Linked DNA regions of Homo sapiens: regions 1, 2, 3, 4, 6 and 7 are each linked to region 5. The links are contacts of gene promoters, found by promoter capture Hi-C in blood cells and fetal thymus (Javierre and others, 2016). All regions are on one chromosome and are shown on one strand. Each heading gives the region's core, a stretch centred on a gene start or on the middle of the fragment in contact. The rest is flanking DNA. Distances are from core to core; before and after follow the strand shown. Region 1 overlaps LOC105369890 (a long non-coding RNA gene). Region 2 has its middle 140 kb from the start of LINC02392. Region 3 overlaps LOC105369890 (a long non-coding RNA gene). Region 4 has its middle 170 kb from the start of LINC02392. Region 5 holds the start of ATP2B1 (ATPase plasma membrane Ca2+ transporting 1). Region 6 has its middle 77 kb from the start of LINC02392. Region 7 overlaps LOC105369890 (a long non-coding RNA gene).

Region 1 (2,812 bases), core at 24-2,523, 390 kb before region 5:
GGACCCTATGTAACTTTTCCCTGACCTAGAGCAATGAAGAGCTTTAATAAGTATGGGCAGTTTGAAATGAACCTGAGAGTCATATTTGCCTGTCAGCAGGTTTGTGTACTTCATCTTGAAGGTTAGCTCTTGGCAACCACTTGAGAATTTTTCCTATATGAAGTTTACCAACCAAAGGACTCACCCTTAAAGACAATCTTGTCTTTCAGTGATCTTAATCCAGTAATTACTCCCACACTTCCTCTTCCACCTCCTATTTGAATAATGGAAAATCCTTTCATTTCTTCTGAGTAACTTCTGCCATCTGGTTTTTCAGGGATTTCCTGCAATAGAGAGCAAGGAGCTAGTGAAGTTAGGTTTTTGTTGTTGCTGTTGTTTTCCATTTCCCCCAGCAAACCATACAAAGTCATGAGACTCTGGTACAGTCAGCACAGATGTCTTCTCTCACTTCATAAACCTGATCATAGTATCTCTACTTAAAAAGAAACCTATCAACAACAATCATTACTCTCTTATGATAGTTTTTGCTTCCAATTGGCTGCAATAACCGCATGCCTTTACTATCATGCCCCAAAAAGCTCACATAGTATTAAATATTCAACAATATCCACCAGCAGCACACCAATATGTATATTATCTCATTATTTTGCCCACATTTGCCTATTCTATTATTACTATTTCCTTATTTCCTTACTATTTAAAATAAATCCAATCAACTATTTCTGGGCTCTTCCCTATTTGGATTGTTGCCTTGAGATGCATAGATGAGCCTCCTTTTCTTATTAGGTGCCACTCAGATTGGCTTTTAACTTATTATTTTTTCTGTTTCTCTGGATCTGTTTTTATTCCCCACTGCTATGCTCCTACCTTTGTTGGCTGACTGATGGCTCCATCGGTGACTCCCTTTTCTCTTTTTCATTCCCTAAGCCAGTCACTTAGCATGTAACCACAGTTTAACCATTTCCCATTCACTGCAGCCCCATTCCAAAGCCTATTGAAAAACTTGCCCACATTGGAAAAAAAAAAAAAAACCGAAAGGAGATTCCAAACAAATCAAGTATATTAAAAGAAAAAAAAGGTGAAAATATATATTGAGTGAGGACCTTATGATGTAATCATCCAAGCATCTCTAAAACATTAGGTATTGGAGTTGGAACATGAAAATTCAGAGATAAATGACTGACGCTCATGTACATTTATAGTGTGTGTGGATATGGTGCTGTACATTGAATATTAAAGGATAGCCGATCTGCACCGAACATGTTGAAAGAGTTTTTCAATAGTAGACAATCCACTGTTTACAACTTTACCCTCTGCCTGGGAAAATCAATGTCCATTCTCAAGCAATCTGCTGCCCTGGTTATAGCAGTTCCGGTTCAAAGGAGGTTTGCATTTAGATGCTTGATCTTTCTGTCCCACTCTAGATTTTTGGAATGGTGCATTTTGTGATCATGATTTTTCTCCTGATTCCATTTCCTTATGTCATTTAAGAACATGAGGCTTTTTAGTATGACTCACTGAATAGCAAATATAGCATCTTAGTGAACTGCAGTTTTTCCTAATCAGAACATAAACTTGCTCTGTAATATCAGACTGAGACAGGAAAGAAAACACAAAGAAAAATGGCCACTGAATCACCCTGAGCTCTGAAGGAAAGGTGTCAAGGTACTTATTAAGAATCACACTATACTTCTTTAATATTCTCAATATTATCAGGTAGTTATAACACTTCAATTTTTATCCCAGATCCTAAGTGAACTGAGATACAAATTGTCTTTAATCCCAAACCACCAAAGCCTATTTTAAGTAGAAACTTCGGGGCAGATACATTCTTCAACTGTCTTTATATATCCTGGTAGAAAGGGGTACACAAGAAGAATAACCATGGATCAGCCAGGTGTAGTGGCTCACGCCTGTAATCCCAACACTGAGAGACCGAGGCAGGTGGATCACTTGAGGTCAGGAGTTCAAGACAAGCCTGGCCAACATGATGAAACCCTGTCTCTCCTAAAAATACAAAAATTAGCTGGGCACAGTAGTGCACATCTGTAATCCCAGTTACATGGGAGGCTGAGGCAAGATAATTGCTTGAACCCAGAAGACGGAGTTTTCTGGAGGTTGCAGTGAGCCGAGATCATGTCACTGCACTCCAGCCTGGGTGAGAGGGTGAGACTTCATCTCAAAAAAAAAAAAAGGAATAACCAGAGACTATGTGTAAAGAGGGCTTCCAGGAAGTCAGTAGTATCAGGAGAAGACCTAAACTGGGCAGCTATTCTAGGATATAATTCCAAGAGCCAGTCTAGTCATCTTTCTTTTTGCTCAGCTTCCTCCTCTCTCTCCATCAGCAGGAAGGATTCTAAACCCTGACCAAGCAATTCCAGTCAGGATAAGCTCTGCCTTTAGCCATGGGAGAGAAGCTCAGCTTCTCTGGGCCCTTGCCCTATGGCATTTGCCTGGTAGCAGGATTTCCAAGAATAACTACTGTCTGTGGTTTTCTCAAACCCTACTCCCTAGAGAAACCAGGGAGTGTAAACTTTTTTGGTCTCAAGGTGGTTTTAAGCATCAGCAAATGTTTGCTTTGAACTTTAGCCAGCATCTTATTTTATCCAAATGAACTCTCGAATCTCAATTTATACAAACTAAAATGCCCACCAGACAGATCAGTAAGTTCCTATTCTGTAGCATGAATAGGAACGGAAGTAATTAAGTGGAGGCATGTGACCTCTAGAAACAATCTTTGGTTGAGTGGCAGGTAGAACAAGTAGGATTTAAAGTACTATTTGGAGTCACAATTGATGTTGATTGCTAGTGA
Region 2 (2,700 bases), core at 157-2,656, 440 kb before region 5:
CTTCATGAAGTTCTCATGCTGTGTTTTTCAGCTCCATCATGTCATTTATTTTCCTCTATAAACTGGTTATTCTAGTTAGCAGCTCCTCTAACGTTTTATCAAGGTTCTTAGCTTCTTTGCATTGGATAGAACATGCTCTTTTAGCTCAACATAGTTTTTTATTACCCATCTTCTGAAGCCTGCTTCTGTCAATTCGTCCATCTCATCCTCCATCAAGTTCTGTGCCCTTGCTGGAGAGATGTTGTGATAATTTGGAGGAGAAGAGGCAGTCTGGCCTTTTGGGTTTTCAGCGTTTCTTCATTGATTCTTTCTCATCTTCGTGAGTTTGTCTAGTTTCCATCTTTGAGGCTGCTGACCCTTGGATGGGATTTTTGTAGGGGCTTTTTTTGTTGTTGATGATGCTATTGTTGTTGCTTTCTGTTTGTTTTTCTTTCAATGGTCAGGTCCCTCTGCCGTAGTGCTGCTGTGGTTTTCTGGGGATTCACTTCAGGCCCTATTCATCTGCTTCACTCCCACACCTGGAGATGTCATTCAAGAAGGCTGGAGAACAGCAAAGATGGGTGCCTGCTCCTTATTCTGGTATCACTGACCTTGAGGTGCACCAACCTGATGCCAGTAGGATCGCTCCTATATAGGGTGCCTGACAACCCCTGTTGGAGGGTCTCACCGAGTTGGGTGGCATAGGGAACAGGATTCGTCATAGGGAACAGCACTTTGCCCCTTGGTGGAGGGGATGTGTTTCACTGGTGGGAAACCCACTTCTCTGGGCTGCCCAGATTCCTCAGAACTACCAGGAGGAAAGGCTAAGTCTGCTGGTCCGCATAGACTGCAGCCACCACTTCCCCTAGGGGCTCAGGCCAAGGGAGATCCAGGTTCTGTCCCTGAGCCTCTGGCTGGAGTTATTGAAGTTCCTTCAGGGACGCCACACCCAGTGAGGAGGGATGAGTCAGGGTCAGGCCTGAAGACACTCTGGCCACAGTCTGCCACTGCTGGTGTGTTGTGCTGTGGGGGACACGTCTGGAGACCAAGTCGTACAGCCTCCCTGGCTCCAGCAGGGGAAAAGCATGGCCTGGAGCTATAAAGATGAATGCTGCCCTTCCCCCACCCAGGAAGCTTAGCAAATTAGGCAGTTGTGAGTCCCAGTGCTGGCTGCTGCCCTTCCCTCAAGGAGTTCAAAGGGCCTAGACAGCACGCAGCTGCAGCTGTGGTGCTGGTTGACACTCCCCACGTGAGCTCAGTAGGCTTAAGCAGATTCCAGCTGAGAGACTGTTGAGAATCTGCATGGCTCTGGGGTTGGGAAGCTAGGCCACAGGGGCATGGGCTCACAAATGGGATTTTCTGATCTGTGGTTTGCACAGTTATGTGGAAAAAGCACAGTTTCCCCGACTTGATAGCCTGCTCACTCACCGCCTCCCTTGGTTTAGGGGTGGGGGCCCCCCTGCCCCGTGTGGTTCTCAGATGGGCTGCCTCACCACACTGCTCTTCCTTCCTCTCTGTGGATCACGCCAGCCTCCTAATCAGTTCTGATGAGAGAACCTGGATACCTTGCTTGCCGGTGAAGCAGTCATACACTTATTATAGTTCTTTTCCATGGGTGCCTCTGATCACAGCTGTTTCTAGTTGGCCATCTTGGCCCTGCCCCCACTAAACATTTACAATTAAAGGTCTCCTTGTTAAGCCTTCTTTGATGCCAAGCTTCAATTCCATTGCATTGTTTGCCAACCTCTGCCTTGATTCCCTGTTTTCTATCAGGATTGTCTTGAGATTTACCCAGTTGCCTGCAATTCACAGGGCTCCACAACAGGGGCTCAGGAGTCTGGGGTACTGCAGGGAACTGGGGATTTGTTGGGCCTAACCAAGGCAGTCAGTCAGTGTGCAGCCCCGCACTCGAGGTCCAGGAGGGAACGATGCTTGATATCAGGACGCAAGCCGCCTCCAGCCCAAGCAGCCCCTCTAGATATTTTATAATGTATTTTAGCACTTTGGAAATAGATATGCCTTTGCCGCTCAGTTTTTTAAAGTTTACTTTCTTTTTTTACATTAAAAGGAAATATTTCATATAAATATACATAAGTACACCTATGTTTTCAATGTATATTTCTGGTAGTCTTAACCAGCCTTAGACATTAAACCAGACCCTAAAGATAAAAGCGTGAATGTAATCAACATAGTTACAGCTTTCATGGAATTAATACCAAAGGGTGGCATGAGATAGTTAGAAAACAGTTAAAACTATAAAAACTAGAGCTAATATCTACATAATTGAGGAGTCTAGCTCCAGGCCATAATCCTATGTGTGATCTTTGAGGCTCAACCATAGGCAATTACAAAGACTTTACCTGGCAGGCCTTGAGAGGGAGAGCTGCCTCCCAACTCCAGACTTCATGCACAGTCATCATCTTTCCGTCTCTGGAAGGAGTTGCAGTCAGGGATTCAGGCTCCTCCAGCTGGCAATGCTCTTAACGCACATCACATTGCTAACAAGGAGCCTCCATTCAGAGGCCATGGCCTTTCCCAGGTGTCTCTGCTTATTTGGGGAGGCTTGAAGACACATTTCCCCACTCTGACTCAGTATTCAGTACTTTCCCTTTCCTAGTCCTTCCCTCTCTCTTCCTTAATCCCCAGCTCCTATGTTCATCACATGGCAGAAGTCTTTTATTTGAGCCAGGGCATAAAGCCAAAAAGTCAAGCTCCAGGACC
Region 3 (2,781 bases), core at 14-2,513, 350 kb before region 5:
GGGCTGACAGCACTGGACAACCTCTTATTGGAGGCACCATGATAGGTAATTAAGCAACCACCGTCACTCAAGGTCAAATGATCCTTAATCTAAAAACAATCTCTAAATGACATAAGAACAGCTTTAACCATAACATCCACTGCATTTGAGGTCCTATTTCATCTATCTGCAGAGCAAAGTCAGTAATATGAGACTCATAAACCAAGCAGGGTTGCAAATCCTCTTATGCTACCCACAAGAAATGAAGGGAGTGGGGGAAAGCATTGTTTTGAAATTTCACTTATGCAAAGAAATGAGAAAATAGTTCATAAGATGATTGTTCTGTGTAAGCAGTGGTCAAATAATGTTATTTGATGGAAATTGTTTTCTTTGCTTGCTTCCTGAACCCTCCATTTAACATTTCTAGGAAATCATTCTGATGGAAAAGGTCAAATATATACAAAAATAAAATTAGGCCTATTAATCATATTTTGTAATTGGATAACTTGAACATTTTTATTCAAAGAGAAGCTTCCTAATTCTACCCTATACCTTTAGTTCCTCAGAATTTAAAACAGAAATTAACTTCAATGACTCACATTTCTGTATGGAGTTTTATGCCTCAGAATATGTTATACTTATATTTATTTGTGTAACTAAAGGGAAGAAGCAATTATTTGGATAATGTTAAAAAAACTGGAATTTTAACTTCAGTTTGTCAGAGACAAAAGCACTGCAGATTTAATTCTTCTCAAACTTTAATGTGAATACAAATCACCTGGGTATCTTGGTAAAATGCAGATTCCAGTGTAGCAGGTTTGGCGTAAGGCCTGAAAACCAGCATTTCTAACAGGCAACCAAGTGACACCTATTCTCAATCAAGGTTCACACTCTGAACAGTAAGATTATAGAATTTTCTATTATACCTGCAGGGTTTCTAAAGAGCGGATAATGATAGGACAAGTGAAAAATTAATTTTTTAGATCTATTTTCTTATCCTCCACTTTCATTTGCATACATAGACATATCTAATGTTTTAAAATCAACTAATGAATGTGGTTTATCCTTTTGAATGCGTAAAATGATACAAATGCAAAATGATCACTATTATGATTTGTATTAAGCTTTGTATCAACATCTAATGCACTTCTTATTAATTCATGGACTACTAATTTAATCTTCTTACTGTGATCAGTCAACAAGTAAACCATTCTCAGACTGTTGAGGAAATGCAAATTTTAATATAACCAATCAAAACATTCAGTTAGGTTACACTGAATAGTTTATAACTAGTAGAGTAAAAAGATTGTTTTAAATTGGAAATGCACTAAAAGTAACATTTTCTTTGTTGAGCTAAAAAATTAGCATATTTACTTAAAATGCTGACTCAGACCTTGGCCAGGCCATTGACTTCACTGAGGAGTTCAAACTGTGTTAAAGCTTTTAATAAAACTCTGGGGGAAATTCCACTGCTACACAATGAAATTCCATTACGTATGACTTATTTTTGGCTCCCCAGTTGATAATAAAACATATTAAATGGCATTTCCCTTTATTTTTTTCCTGAGGCTCAGTTTTTATACCACTATGTATTCTTCAAGAATGTTTTAACTTAAAAGTATTTTTTATTTTGTTCTTCAAGAAGTACTAAGATATGTAAATTTTGTTATTGTAATTATGTCATAGTGGATCAAAAATTATGTATTGGCAATTACCCTGCTTAACAATTGCCAAAAATATTCTACTGTTTATGGTGTTGAAATGCCAAGGAAGAACTTTATGCAGAAAAGATTCACATTTCTGAAGTGTTGAACATAGTTAGTAACCAATATGTATTTTTGTGCGACCCTGATCCTTCAATGGTTGTTTGAGGATTACTGCAATGGGTCTAAAGACTATCAACTTTAAGAGAAGAAATAACATACATTAAAAAAAAAGTCAGGCCGGGTACCCTGGCTCACTCCTGTAATCCCAGCTCTTCGGGAGGCCAAGGCAAGTGGATCACGAGGCCAGGAGTTCAAGCCCAGCTGGCCAACGTGGTGAAATCCTGTCTCTACTAAAAACACAAAAACTAGCTGGGTGTGGTGACACTTGCCTGTAGTCCCAGGTATTCAGGAGACTAAGGCATGAGAATCGCTTGAACTTGGGAGGTGGAGGTTGCAGTAAGCCAAGATCACACCACTGCACTCCAGCCTGGGTGACAGAGCAAGACTCAGTATCAAAAAAAAAGGAAAGAGAAAAATGTCAGGTTTAATGTTTTTATTTATATCAAGTAGCTATTACACAGTAGACCCTTAATAAAAGTTTGATCATCATATGAATTATAAAATTAACATTTATAGTAAGTTTTACAGTTAGTTTCTCTCACAAAACCAGGTTTAATAGGTAAGAAACACACAAAAAATGTTACCCAGATCCCGTCAAGGAATGACTTTTTGTTCCTACTACTGAGAGAGCCATCAGGAAGCATCCTTCAACTGACAGCCCCTTCAAGGATCAGACCCCCTACATCCTTCCCAGGTGGCACTCATCCAGTGACTGATGGAGGCAGGGGTATGAAGGTCCAGGCATTTCAGATCAATGCAGGACAAACCCGACCTTGACTTTTCCCTACGCCATTCTGATTTTGCCTCCTTAGTTTTCATGGGTGTTGATACCAAGAGCCTTCTCTAATAATTCAGCAAATTAACTTTCTGCTTGCCAGAAACCCAACCTGGCACCACAGGCATTATTGTCCTCATCTTACAGATAATAAAACAAAGGCTCAAAGATGGTAAGTGGCTTACCCAAGATGAGGCTGCT
Region 4 (2,700 bases), core at 179-2,678, 410 kb before region 5:
CTAGCAGCGACCCACCCTCCCCACTAGCAGGACTGCTGTCATCCACTCGCATGTACCTTGAGGACTAGTTTACCCCACTGCTGATGCTTCCACAGGGGGCTAAAGAGCACACCCCAAAGAGCCTGAGAATTATCTGCCCATGGTTACAGTCAAGGTTAGCAACTCTGCTCCCCTTCCCCAAGTAGCAGGACTATAGGGAATTTGCATGCTATCTGAGAACAGACTCCCCCTACATTCCACCAATGCTGCTGCAGCCACATAAGCACTCTGCAGAGGAGCCTGAGATCACCCCAATCAGCCCACCACAGCCAGCATCCAAATGCACCACCAGTGGGCCTAAGGACAGGCTTTCTCAGCCTGGTACTGCTCTCCATCCAGTATCCAAGCACATGGCACAAAGGCTTAGGGATTGCACTGCTCTGTCCACCACCACCAGCATCTGTGCATTCCTCCTGGGGACCTGAGAATGTGTTCACCCAACCTGCCACTACTGTCACAGCAAGATGCTGTCACCCATATGTGCCACCTAGAGACTGGCACACTCAGCAAACTGCAGCTGCTGCTAACACAAACATCTGCTGCTTCAGAGCCCAAGGGTTGACTCACCACCACTACTTCCATCTCTTTATGCCATACACATTATGCAGGAGAACAAAGACCTACCATCTGCCCAGCCCACCACTGCCACTGCCAGCATCCCAGCAATCTAGAAGGCCAAGAGTACGCCCATTTGCACCCACTAAAACTCTGTATGCTGACTAGGGGCCCAAGGTTGCATAGCCCACCACTGTCACCAATGGGGCCCAAAGACCAGCCCGCTTTGCATCTTCATCCTCAGCAAAACCCCAACACAGCCTCCACTAACAACTGCAGCATAAGCCACAAAAAAAATCACAAGCACCACTAACATTGTTTACAGCCAAAGAAATCATACAGAGACTACACTACTGCATGCATCCAGAATTAAAGATAAAATGTCCTACCCAACCAACACCATAGATACATCTCCAGGAAAAATATTTCCCATGAAAACTAATCCTCAAAATTTGTAGAAACAACTATGACACCAGATATCAATGTAGGGACTCAAGAAACACAAAAAAGAAACAAAGAAAATTACACTTCCATAGGAACACAATAATTATTCAGCAACAGATTCTAAAGAAAAAATAATTTTATGAAATCCCAGGAAAAGAATTCAAAATAATAATATTTAAAAAGCCCTGTGAGATACAGAAAAACAAAACAGATAAACAATACAAAGAAATCAGATTAAAAATTCAGGACATGAGTGAGAAATTTATCAGAGAGATAGATATCATTTAAGAAACCAGAAATAAGATATCTTAGAGCTGAAGAATTCAGTGAATGAAACAAGAAATTCATTTGAGAGTTTCAGCAATAGACAAGAGTAAGCAGAAGAATCTCAGAACTTGAAGACAGTCTTTGGAAATAACTCTGTAAAACTAAAAACAAACAAACAAAAAACACCCCAAAACAAACAAAAACAAAGAATAAAATGCATGAAACAGCCTATGTGACATATGGGACACTATAAAGCAATTAAATATGTAAATTTTGGATATTTCAGAAAGTGAAGAGACCAAAGTCATGGAAAATCTATTTAATGAAATGATAACTGAAAACATCCCAAGTCTAGCAAAAGATTTAAACATTCAGATACAGGAAGCTCAGAGATCTCCAAATAGATGCAACCCAAAAAGTTACATTTTGTCCTTTCCCAGACACACTATAATCAAGTTGTCAAAAATCAGGTAAAGAGAGAATTATGAAAATAGCAACAGAAATGTGTCTAGTCATTTATAAGGGAAACCCCATCAGACTAACATCAGATATCTCAGCAGAAACCTTACAGGCCAGGAGTGCTGGAAAAAAAGGCCTACAAACCAAGAATACCATGCCCAGAAACATTTATCGTTCATAAATAAAGGAGAAATAAAGTCTTTCTCAGACAAGCAAAAACTGAGGTAATTCATTACTCCTAGACCAACTCTACAATATATGCTTCAGGGAGTCCTACACCTGAAAGTGAAATGACAGATCAATTATCATGAAAATCCACAAAAGCATAAAATGTACTGCCAAAGCAAACATACAAAAGAAGAAAAGGACATAAATATTACCACCACAGAAAATGACCAAACCACAATGATAAATAAGACAGAAATAAAGAAACAAAGAATATACAAAACAACCATAAAACCAACAACAAAATAATGGGAATAAGTACTCATCTACCAATAATAACCTTGAATGTAAATGAATTTTCCACTTAAAAGATACAGACTGGCTAAATGGATTTTTTTTTTAATGACCCAACTACATGCTGCCTATAAAAAACTCACTTCTCTGTGAAGACACGTAAGACTCAAAGTGAAAGGATGGAAAAAGATACTCCACACAAATGGAAATTAAAAGCAAGCAGGAGTAGCTATACTTATATCAGATAAAACAGACTTTAAGTCAAAAACAGTAAAAAAAAAAAGACAAAAGCTCATTAAATAATGATAAAGTAATCAATTCATTAAGAGGATGTGACTATTCTAAGTTTATAATGCACCCAACACGGAGCACCCATATTCATAAAGCAAATATTACTGGATCTAAAGAAAGAGATATATTTCAATACAGTAACAGTCAGTGACTTCCACACCACATTCTCAGCATTAGACAGATTAT
Region 5 (2,700 bases), core at 201-2,700:
GGATTTTAAGCGCGGATCCTGCGAGGCCGGTTTGCACTGGCCGAACGCCTGCGTTAACCCTTTGGGCGCCGCAGCTGGGATCCCCGGTGTTTGCGGACCCGACCGGCAGGAACAGAGATGGAGTGTCCCGCGCCCGCATGGGGAGTGAGCTCTCTTCCCCAAAGAGGGAGCGAGCCGAGAAGCACTTTTTCCTCCGGTGCGTGCGTCACGGCCCGGGACAGGCGTCGAGTCCGGTTTGGAGTGGGGGCAGAGACGCGGCGAGGAGCCGCTCAAATGTCCGCTGACTGGGGGTTCGCCTTAATCTGTCCTCGCCAGGAGCGCTCGCCCTCGCCCTCCCGCTGGCTCGCTCCTGGGCCCTGGAGGGGCATGGGCCCGGGGGCGGTTCGGGAGGGGCCCCAGGTGAAGGGCGCCCGCACTTCTCCTGCGGCAATCATCGCTCTCCTGCCTCCACACGTCGCGGCAGCGGCCCGGCCCCGCGCCGAAACAGCAGCTGTGACTGACGGAGTCACCTCCCCGCGCGCCTGGCCACCCCCTCCTCCCCCGCCGCTCCCTCCTGCACCAACACGTCATGGAAACACGGACGTCAGAGCCTCTCAGCCAATCGCAGGCTGCGGCAGGAGGGAAGGGGCGCGCTGGAGGGGGCGGGGGCAGCGGCAAGCCAAGGCGCTCAGGGGAAGGAAGAAAGGGAGGGGCGTGCGGAGGCGCAAGTCCCCACCTCCGCCCCTCACTCCGGCCACCCTTTCCCGACCGCGCGGCAAGTTCTAATCGCCAGGCGCGCGCTCGCCAGCCGAGGGCGCGCTCGCCGGGTCCTCCCCTTAAACGCCCTCCCAGTGCCGCTCAGCTCCCAGTCCCGGTCCGAGCCGCGGTTCCTCCGCGCGCGCGCGCGCGCACTCGCCCGCCCCCAGGCTCCCCGCGGATCGCGTCACGTGACCGCGCTCAGCCAAGGCGGCAGCGGCGGCGGCGCGAGCTTCGGCGGCGGTGGCGGCTGTGGCAGCGGGAGCAGCTGCGCCGCCAGCGTGGAGCGGGAGGCGTGTGGGTGTGGAGAAAAGGGAGCGCCAGACCGGAACGGGTGAGCGTTCTCCTCCCCCTGCCTACCCCGGCAATCTTGCAGGCCACCCGGTGCAGACGGGGTCCCTGCCCGGAGCTGCGCGCAGCCCCCTCGTGCTCGGCCGTCCGCTCTCCGGTGCCCGCGGGCCCCGCCCCGAGTGGGGCGGGCTGCGGCGCTCACGGAGGTGGCTGCACCCCGCCCGCGGCTGCTGTTGCGGACGGCGGCGTGAGGCCGGCTGAGCTGCCCGTGCCGAGCGAGCGCGGCGCGCCCTGTGTGCCGCTCTGCGGAGCCGAGGAGGCGGGTCCTGCGGGGACGCGGGCGGCCACTCGGTGGCTGCCGGGCTCTGGGCGGGGACGGCCGGGCGCCGCCTCCTCCTCCTTCGCTGCCGCCGCCGCCTCCTCGCAGTGCAGCGTGAGTAGGGAGCCCCGGCTGGTGGACGCCGAGCCTCTCGGCTCCTTGGCCGCCCCATCCCCGAGGTGCAGCTGCACCTCCGCGTGGCGCCCCGAGCCCTGCGAGCCGGCTGCGGACGCGCTGAGGACGGAGCCCCCATCCTCTGCGTTTCCCGCTGCCCCTTAACGCCCCGCGACCCTCCCGCAGCCTGCCTTTCCTTCCCCCTCGGAAAATGGTTCCCACTGCCGGGCGAGGTGAGTGGCGGCCGCCGCCCGCCCGCGGCCGGGGGCGGCGGGGCAGGTCACCTGCGGGGGAGGCCAGGCGGAGCACGGAGGTCGGGCGTCGCGGCGGGGATCCTGATAGCTGGGTGCGCAGCGGGTTGCGCCGGATTCGGGAGAAGCTGACGGGGGCGGTCGGGGCCCCTCGCAGGTTGCCTCTTGCCGGGAGATTGTGAAGGTGAGCGGGCTTCTCGCCGTGCACCTCAGCGCCGGGTCAGTCTGGGAGTCGCTGCTCCGGGCCCGAGGGATGGGGCTTGTTGGGGCTTCTGGTCTACACCCGCAGGTCTTCGGCTTCACGAAGCCGCCTCGGCCGCGCCACAGCCCATCCCGCCACCGGTCGCCCCCGCCACGGCGCGTGGTGACCTTGAGGGCACCGTGCCCGGCACTCCCTCTCCCCGCGCCCCGGGAGGGTCACCCCTCTAATCCTTGGCCTCGGCCCCCCAGACGCACTGCGGGAGGGGAGCGGGGGCCCCTGGTCGGCCCCTGGCCCTGGTGGTTGATTGTTGGCGTGTCAGGACGGTGATTCCTCGGGAGTTGGAGAGCCGCCTGGTCTTTCTCCTCACGCCTTCCGTCTGGCCCCCCAGGATGTTCACAGTTGTTTCCGATTCGTGTTTATTCACTTAGTTTAAGAGAAAAAAGCCTGCGCCCCCACCTCCCTTTTTGAGGAAGGAGTCTGTAGGAGGACCGCGTTCCAGTGGCAGGGGTGTGGGGTGGGGGCTGTGCTCTCTTTATCCCATCCTGCGGGAGAATCCTGTGGCTAAGCTGGTTAGCGACCCCTGGTTCTGCGCCGCGGTCACCAGCCAGGTTGGTCTCTGTGCGCATTTCATTCACCAGTTTTCTGCGGGACTCGCAGCGCTGGGAGTGCTCGCACCCTGTGCGCTGCTTGGCTCGGAGGGGAGGGCAGGGCGTCCGGGTGGGTTAAAGGGGTCTGCAGGTACTTGGAGGGCTCGACCCTCCTCGACAGGCTGATATTTACCTTTTCTT
Region 6 (2,747 bases), core at 205-2,704, 510 kb before region 5:
AGATTGGAAGTTACTAAAAAGATTTTGGACACTATTTTTAGGCATATATATATCAAATTACATATATTATATTATATATAAAATTATATATGTGCCAGATATAAATTATTATTTAATATATAATAGGCTGGGCGCAGTGGCTCACGTCTGTAATCCCAGCACTTTGGGAGGCTGAGGCGGGCGGATCACGAGGTCAGGAGATCAAGATCATCCTGGCTAACACGGTGAAACCCCGTCTCTACTAAAAATACAAAAAATTAACTGGGCGTGGTGGCGGGCACCTGTAGTCCCAGCTACTCAGGAGGCTGAGGCAGGAGAATGGCGTGAACCCAGGAGATGGAGCTTGCAGTGAGCCAAGATCGTGCCACTGCACTCCAGCCTGGACGACAGAGCAAGACTCCGTCTCAAAAAAGAATATATATATATAATAAAATATATATTATAAATATAAGTATAATATATAATTGTTACATATTTATAACATCATATTATAAATGTTATTATTATTATTTTAAAGAATGGCCTCATGAATCATCATTTATATCATAAATGTTATATATACACAAATATAAATATATAAATAAAATAGAAATATATATTATATATATTCACATATGTCAGATATATGTAATTATATATAGTATATATTTTAAGTATTTTTTTAATTGCCCAATGGGCTTTTCTTGCCCACTGCACAAAAAAAAATCAATTCACTGAGACTGCAGCATTGCAGTAGAGAAACAGTTTAATTGATTAGAGGCCAGCCACATGGGAGAACTAGAGTTATCACTCAAATTGGTCTTCCTGAAAGCTTGAAAGTTAAGGTTTTTATGAAGCATTTTGTGGGCAGGTGGCTAGGAAATGAGTGCTGCTGATTGGTTGAAGATGAAATCATAGGAGTGTGGAAAACAATTCTTGTGTGCTGAGTTCTCCTCTGAGTGGGGGCCACAGGACCAGTTGAGTCATGAGTCACAGGTCTTGGCAGGGTCAGTCACTTGCCAGGAAGTTTGAAAAGATTCTCAAAAGACCATTGAGGTTCCACAATAGTGATGTTATTTATAGGAGAAATTGAGGAAGTCACAAATTCTGTCATCTCTGGCCACATGAGACCTGAGCAGTAAAACATTACAGAAATTATGCCTATGTCTTAACAGAATACAGTCCTCTCTTATAATCTAACCTCGTGGTCTCTCATTCATTTTTCAAAGGTGGTTTAGTTTTTGGAAGGGCTATTATCATTCTTGCTTTAAAGTTAAACTATAAACTAAATTCCTCCAAAAGTTAGCTTGGCCCATGCCCAGGATTGAGTAAGGACAGCTTGTAGGTTAAAAGCAAGGTAGACTTAGAGGAGCTTGGAGCTTGGGGGTTAGAAGCAAGCCAGATTTATCTTACTGTTATAATTTTGCAAAGGTGGTTTCATTTTCTTCTCTCTTGTATTTTCTTACCATGTAACAAAAGATGTAACTTTACATCATCATGTTTAAGTATTATTAATTATGTATTGTAGTTTTTAAGTTGTTGGATAGCAAGTAGAAGAGTAAACACACTCAAGAATTTTATCTCCTCTTCTTGGAAAGGAATTAGTGCATTTTTGGTTGTAAGCAGGACAGCTGTATCATGTTAGGTAAAATTATGACTTTGTTATTTTCTTTATTTGGAAAATAAGTATGCTTTAAGGAAATGTAGATGGATGCCAAGTTGACAAGGGGTGGACTTATTATAGTTGATTTTATGTGTCAACTATAATGTTCCAACATTTCTGACAATTTTAGGAATAGTCGATTTATTAAAGCACTTATTTTTCTCCAAGCCAATCAGAATAGAGCTCTTTTACTAATTTGGTCATGACACTCAGAGGTTGGAAAGTACACATACACTTAACATACGTACAGACAGAGAGACAGTTGCAAGTAGAGATCTTTATGGCTTTCATTCCAAAAACTTAGCTATGCATCAAGCGTAAGTATACTAATATAAAACTCACTAGTATGTATTTGGGTTGGTTTTCGTCTTTGCTTCACTGTGTATTTTTATCCAAATTACATTTCTGACAAATGGAACAAGTTGTTACTTGCTCAATATAAGGGCTAAAGCTTTTTTATGAATATTTGTAAAGGAGATTTTTAAATTTTCATATGTAATATTATGGAGACTGTGAACAACTTAATAAATTTAAGGTGAAGGGGCTAAGGATGCAGTAAGCGGTCACCTGCATGCCTCCAAAGTCCATCTGAGTGGATAATATCCAGTCTATTTTATTTATCCTCTTTAGCACCAGATCTTTTCTTCTGGGGTCTCTTGAAAGACCCCAGTGCCCTAAAGTACCAATGACTCTAGGGAGTTGAGAGACTGGAGAAAGAAAAGAAAGGTCTTAGAGGAATAAGTTTTCTCAAAGAAGCCATTGAACTTTTAAATGATCCTTGGAAAAGTCATGCCGAAAAGAAAGGAAGCAGACAGTGGCAGCACTGTAATGGTGGAGCACATAGTCATAGGGGTTTTATGAAGGCTGTTGGCAGGTTTCACTTTACTGAGAAGTTCCCATGAGAGAGCAGGGTAGGGTACGGAGAACAAAGAAGGCTGAAAACAAAAAGTCAAGAAGAAAAATTTTAATGTAAGAGGTACCTTCTCCCAAACAAAGCAGCCTGGATTCTAACCCAGCTTCAGAAAGTATACTCATTCCAAATGTGACTCAAATCAATAAGCCTTTTTATGGCTTATCCATGCACAGAAGAGGTGTCCCCAGAGAA
Region 7 (2,700 bases), core at 2-2,501, 370 kb before region 5:
CTCATAATAAGAAGGTGTCTGCTAAGACCAACAGAACATTTTCCAGATTTAATGGAATGGTCCAAAGAAGAACTGAATGGAAAAGAAGAGCAGAAGAATTAATGTTAAGTGAGTCAGAAATGCACATGGATTTATATTTTGAAAATCAATAAATTAATGTTACCAGGGGAACGGAGTGAGCCAAGAAGAGAGAATTGAAAGAAAGTCATTTCTTGTTTTAAGAACTGAAGAAGAGACCGGACAAACTAAGAAGAATGCAGCAATTCATGCAATTTTTAAGTTTTCATATTTATGGCAAGCTGGAAAGTCGTGTTGTGGTGCCATATTCTATTGCATCAGAATAGCGGCAGAAATATTCATAAAGAAATGCAGGCTCCTTTAATCCTAATAAAACAACAATTGGTCTTTAGGCATAATCAAATACAATCTTGCCAGTTAAAAAATAGCCACAACTGTTCATGAGGTCTAGTCGTACAAAATGGGTTAAAAGGTAAACTGGAATTTGGAACACTTGTGCCTTAGTCATGGGCATTAATGCTGAGTCACTAATAAACAGAATCTGGTGCTTTGAATGGTTCCCATGAATGTTGCTTTCTCAGCCATAAATTGGACATTGAAAAGCATTAAGGAGTCAGCCAACTTTCCTCAATACCTCACCAAGTTTGTAGATTTTTATATTCCTCTTGCCTCCTACACAATAGTATACATATACAAAAATGGTGCATTCTGGCATAGAGCTTAGCTTATCCCACTTCAGATCGACTTCATGACTCAACACAGTGATAACTGTCTATTGACATTTTCACCAAGCCTTCAAGGTAGCAAGTGCATAGAAGAGGCATGGGATGGCCGGGCGCAATGGCTCACGCCTGTAATCCCAACACTTTGGGAGGCCGAGGCAGGTGGATCACAAGGTCAGGAGATCAAGACCATCCTGGCTAACACAGCGAAACCCTGTCTCTACTAAAAATACAAAAAATTAGCCTGGCGTGGTAGCAGGAGCCTATAGTCCCAGCTACTCGGGAGGCTGAGGCAGGAGAATGGTGTGAACCCGGGAGGCGGAACTTGGAGTGAGCCGAGATCGCGCCACTGCACTCTAGCCTGGGCTACGGAGTAAGACTCCATCAAAAAAAAAAAAAAAAAAAGAAGAGGCATGGGATATAAATTATATAAATTAAGTCATTAAAGTGAAAGAATAGAGTGTAATAAAGAAAGATAGGAAAAGAAGAACAGGAATGAAAGGGAAAAGTAAAAAGGACATAGAAATAAAAGGAAGGATGTGATTTGTTTTTTAAAAAAATGGGAGGTGATGTTAGTGAAACACAAGCAGCACTGAACTACATTTGGTAAGAATTTAGTTCAATTAAACAAATATTTAAGTACCAGCAAGGTGTCAGTCACTGTCTGAAGAACTAGGGATATAACGACGTATAGGATCAGGTCCATTATTTAAGGAACTTACAGCTGTTTGGTGCAAGCAGACACTTGTATGTGCATTCAAATATTCAATTGGCAAACTATTTTTTTAGTGACTACTATGTACCACGCACATCTTAGGGGCGTAGCAAACAAAAATCAATGTAGCATCATAAGTTCTATGCTAGCAGTGAGAATAAAATACCATGACAGCACAGAGAAGAGAGTTATGGCTGCCATGATGGGATCATGGAACGCTTCAGCAACTGTTAACATCAGAGGCCTGGCTACTAGTACTGCATCTCACACTTACCAGCTGTGTGACTTTGGACAAGTTTCAAATCACCATCACCCACTGCAATATTGTTAGAAGATGCAGATTTTGTTAATCCTATGAGAATTCTAATAATAGTGCATGCACATCCAAATTCATAGATTAAAACCATTGGAGAAGCAATCCTTTTTACTCCTCTACCCACAAGGGTGACTCTGTAATATTTTTCAAATATAAGACAGTCTACAATTGAGCAACCACTCTATGTAGATCACAGTTTTAGATAACCAGGGTTGAGGACCTAGGGTACATGTAAAGGAAATAGAATACCTGCTCTCTGCCCATCAACCACAGTGATGACAAGCCAATAAACATAATTATGCTGGACATTACTTAATGGGCACTCCATAGCTATTCACTCCCACAACTGTTTATGGTACATTCAAGTGAGTGAATACAAATTTTGCTATTTTGTAGAGGGATAGAGTGTTGAAACTGCTTAAATATTATCTAATCTAACTCCTTCAAACTGAGAGAAAAAGAAGTTGAATGATATTCCCAAATCATAGAACTAGCTAATAAAGTATCTAACATTAATGGCTACTCAACTCAGGCAAGTAGATGATCAGGTTTTGACAGGGAGTTAAAAAGAAAAAGATGATATTCTGCTCCTATGAAAATAGTATGATGATATAGCATTAAGGGAAAGTGTCTCTTGGGACAAAAGTAGGTGATGAGAAATCTAATTACACACACGCACACACACACACATTAGCTTTCAACACTGATAACCCACCTGCTTCTTAAAAATTTTAAAGAAAATATTGAGTGCAAGAGAAGTAGCTCTCAAACTTACACGTTTTCATTTAACAGATAGTTGACTTTTCTACCTTTACAGGAAGGCAACACAATTTCTTCTCCATGCCTGACATGTTACCAGTTCATGACTAAATAATGAATAAATAGCTGCAGACAAGTAATTCTCAAGGGGGCCTCAAGGTACATCTTAG

What was found. The method cuts DNA at HindIII sites, captures the fragments that hold promoters and counts their contacts. A CHiCAGO score of 5 or more calls a contact.
Region 1: a fragment that was not itself captured here is called in contact with the fragment with the promoter of ATP2B1 in region 5 in 11 of 17 cell types (total CD4 T cells, total B cells, non-activated CD4 T cells and 8 more); the score reaches 12.1 in total CD4 T cells.
Region 2: a fragment that was not itself captured here is called in contact with the fragment with the promoter of ATP2B1 in region 5 in 1 of 17 cell types (fetal thymus); the score reaches 7.3 in fetal thymus.
Region 3: a contact is called between a fragment that was not itself captured here and the fragment with the promoter of ATP2B1 in region 5, in 3 of 17 cell types (total CD8 T cells, total CD4 T cells and total B cells). The highest score is 7.8, in total CD8 T cells.
Region 4: a contact is called between a fragment that was not itself captured here and the fragment with the promoter of ATP2B1 in region 5, in 1 of 17 cell types (monocytes). The highest score is 6.0, in monocytes.
Region 6: a fragment that was not itself captured here is called in contact with the fragment with the promoter of ATP2B1 in region 5 in 1 of 17 cell types (M0 macrophages); the score reaches 5.9 in M0 macrophages.
Region 7: a contact is called between a fragment that was not itself captured here and the fragment with the promoter of ATP2B1 in region 5, in 3 of 17 cell types (total B cells, non-activated CD4 T cells and naive B cells). The highest score is 6.5, in total B cells.

Annotation. Positions count from the first base shown.
Region 1 is chr12:90,098,214-90,101,025 of GRCh38, reverse strand. It overlaps LOC105369890 (a long non-coding RNA gene), which reads right to left. Exons shown (of 13, transcript XR_001749246.2): 11 at 185-323. Among named protein-coding and RNA genes, the nearest start is that of LINC02399, 150 kb to the right of the region's middle. The HindIII fragment of the contact is 3,931 bases long and covers 1-2,812 here.
Region 2 is chr12:90,151,826-90,154,525 of GRCh38, reverse strand. No RefSeq gene overlaps it. Among named protein-coding and RNA genes, the nearest start is that of LINC02392, 140 kb to the left of the region's middle. The HindIII fragment of the contact is 582 bases long and covers 1,116-1,697 here.
Region 3 is chr12:90,057,564-90,060,344 of GRCh38, reverse strand. All of the region lies in intron 8 of LOC105369890 (a long non-coding RNA gene), which reads right to left. Among named protein-coding and RNA genes, the nearest start is that of LINC02399, 110 kb to the right of the region's middle. The HindIII fragment of the contact is 316 bases long and covers 1,106-1,421 here.
Region 4 is chr12:90,119,539-90,122,238 of GRCh38, reverse strand. No RefSeq gene overlaps it. Among named protein-coding and RNA genes, the nearest start is that of LINC02392, 170 kb to the left of the region's middle. The HindIII fragment of the contact is 8,320 bases long and covers 1-2,700 here.
Region 5 is chr12:89,707,588-89,710,287 of GRCh38, reverse strand. ATP2B1 (ATPase plasma membrane Ca2+ transporting 1) reads left to right here and starts at 1,450. Exons shown (of 21, transcript NM_001366521.1): 1 at 1,450-1,692. ATP2B1-AS1 (ATP2B1 antisense RNA 1) reads right to left here and starts at 1,333. Exons shown (of 1, transcript NR_028138.1): 1 at 1-1,333. RefSeq lists silencers at 212-761, 782-1,801, 1,952-2,181 and enhancers at 2,372-2,471, 2,482-2,571. The HindIII fragment of the contact is 7,681 bases long and covers 1-2,700 here.
Region 6 is chr12:90,215,281-90,218,027 of GRCh38, reverse strand. No RefSeq gene overlaps it. Among named protein-coding and RNA genes, the nearest start is that of LINC02392, 77 kb to the left of the region's middle. The HindIII fragment of the contact is 1,282 bases long and covers 814-2,095 here.
Region 7 is chr12:90,082,052-90,084,751 of GRCh38, reverse strand. All of the region lies in intron 10 of LOC105369890 (a long non-coding RNA gene), which reads right to left. Among named protein-coding and RNA genes, the nearest start is that of LINC02399, 140 kb to the right of the region's middle. The HindIII fragment of the contact is 3,803 bases long and covers 1-2,700 here.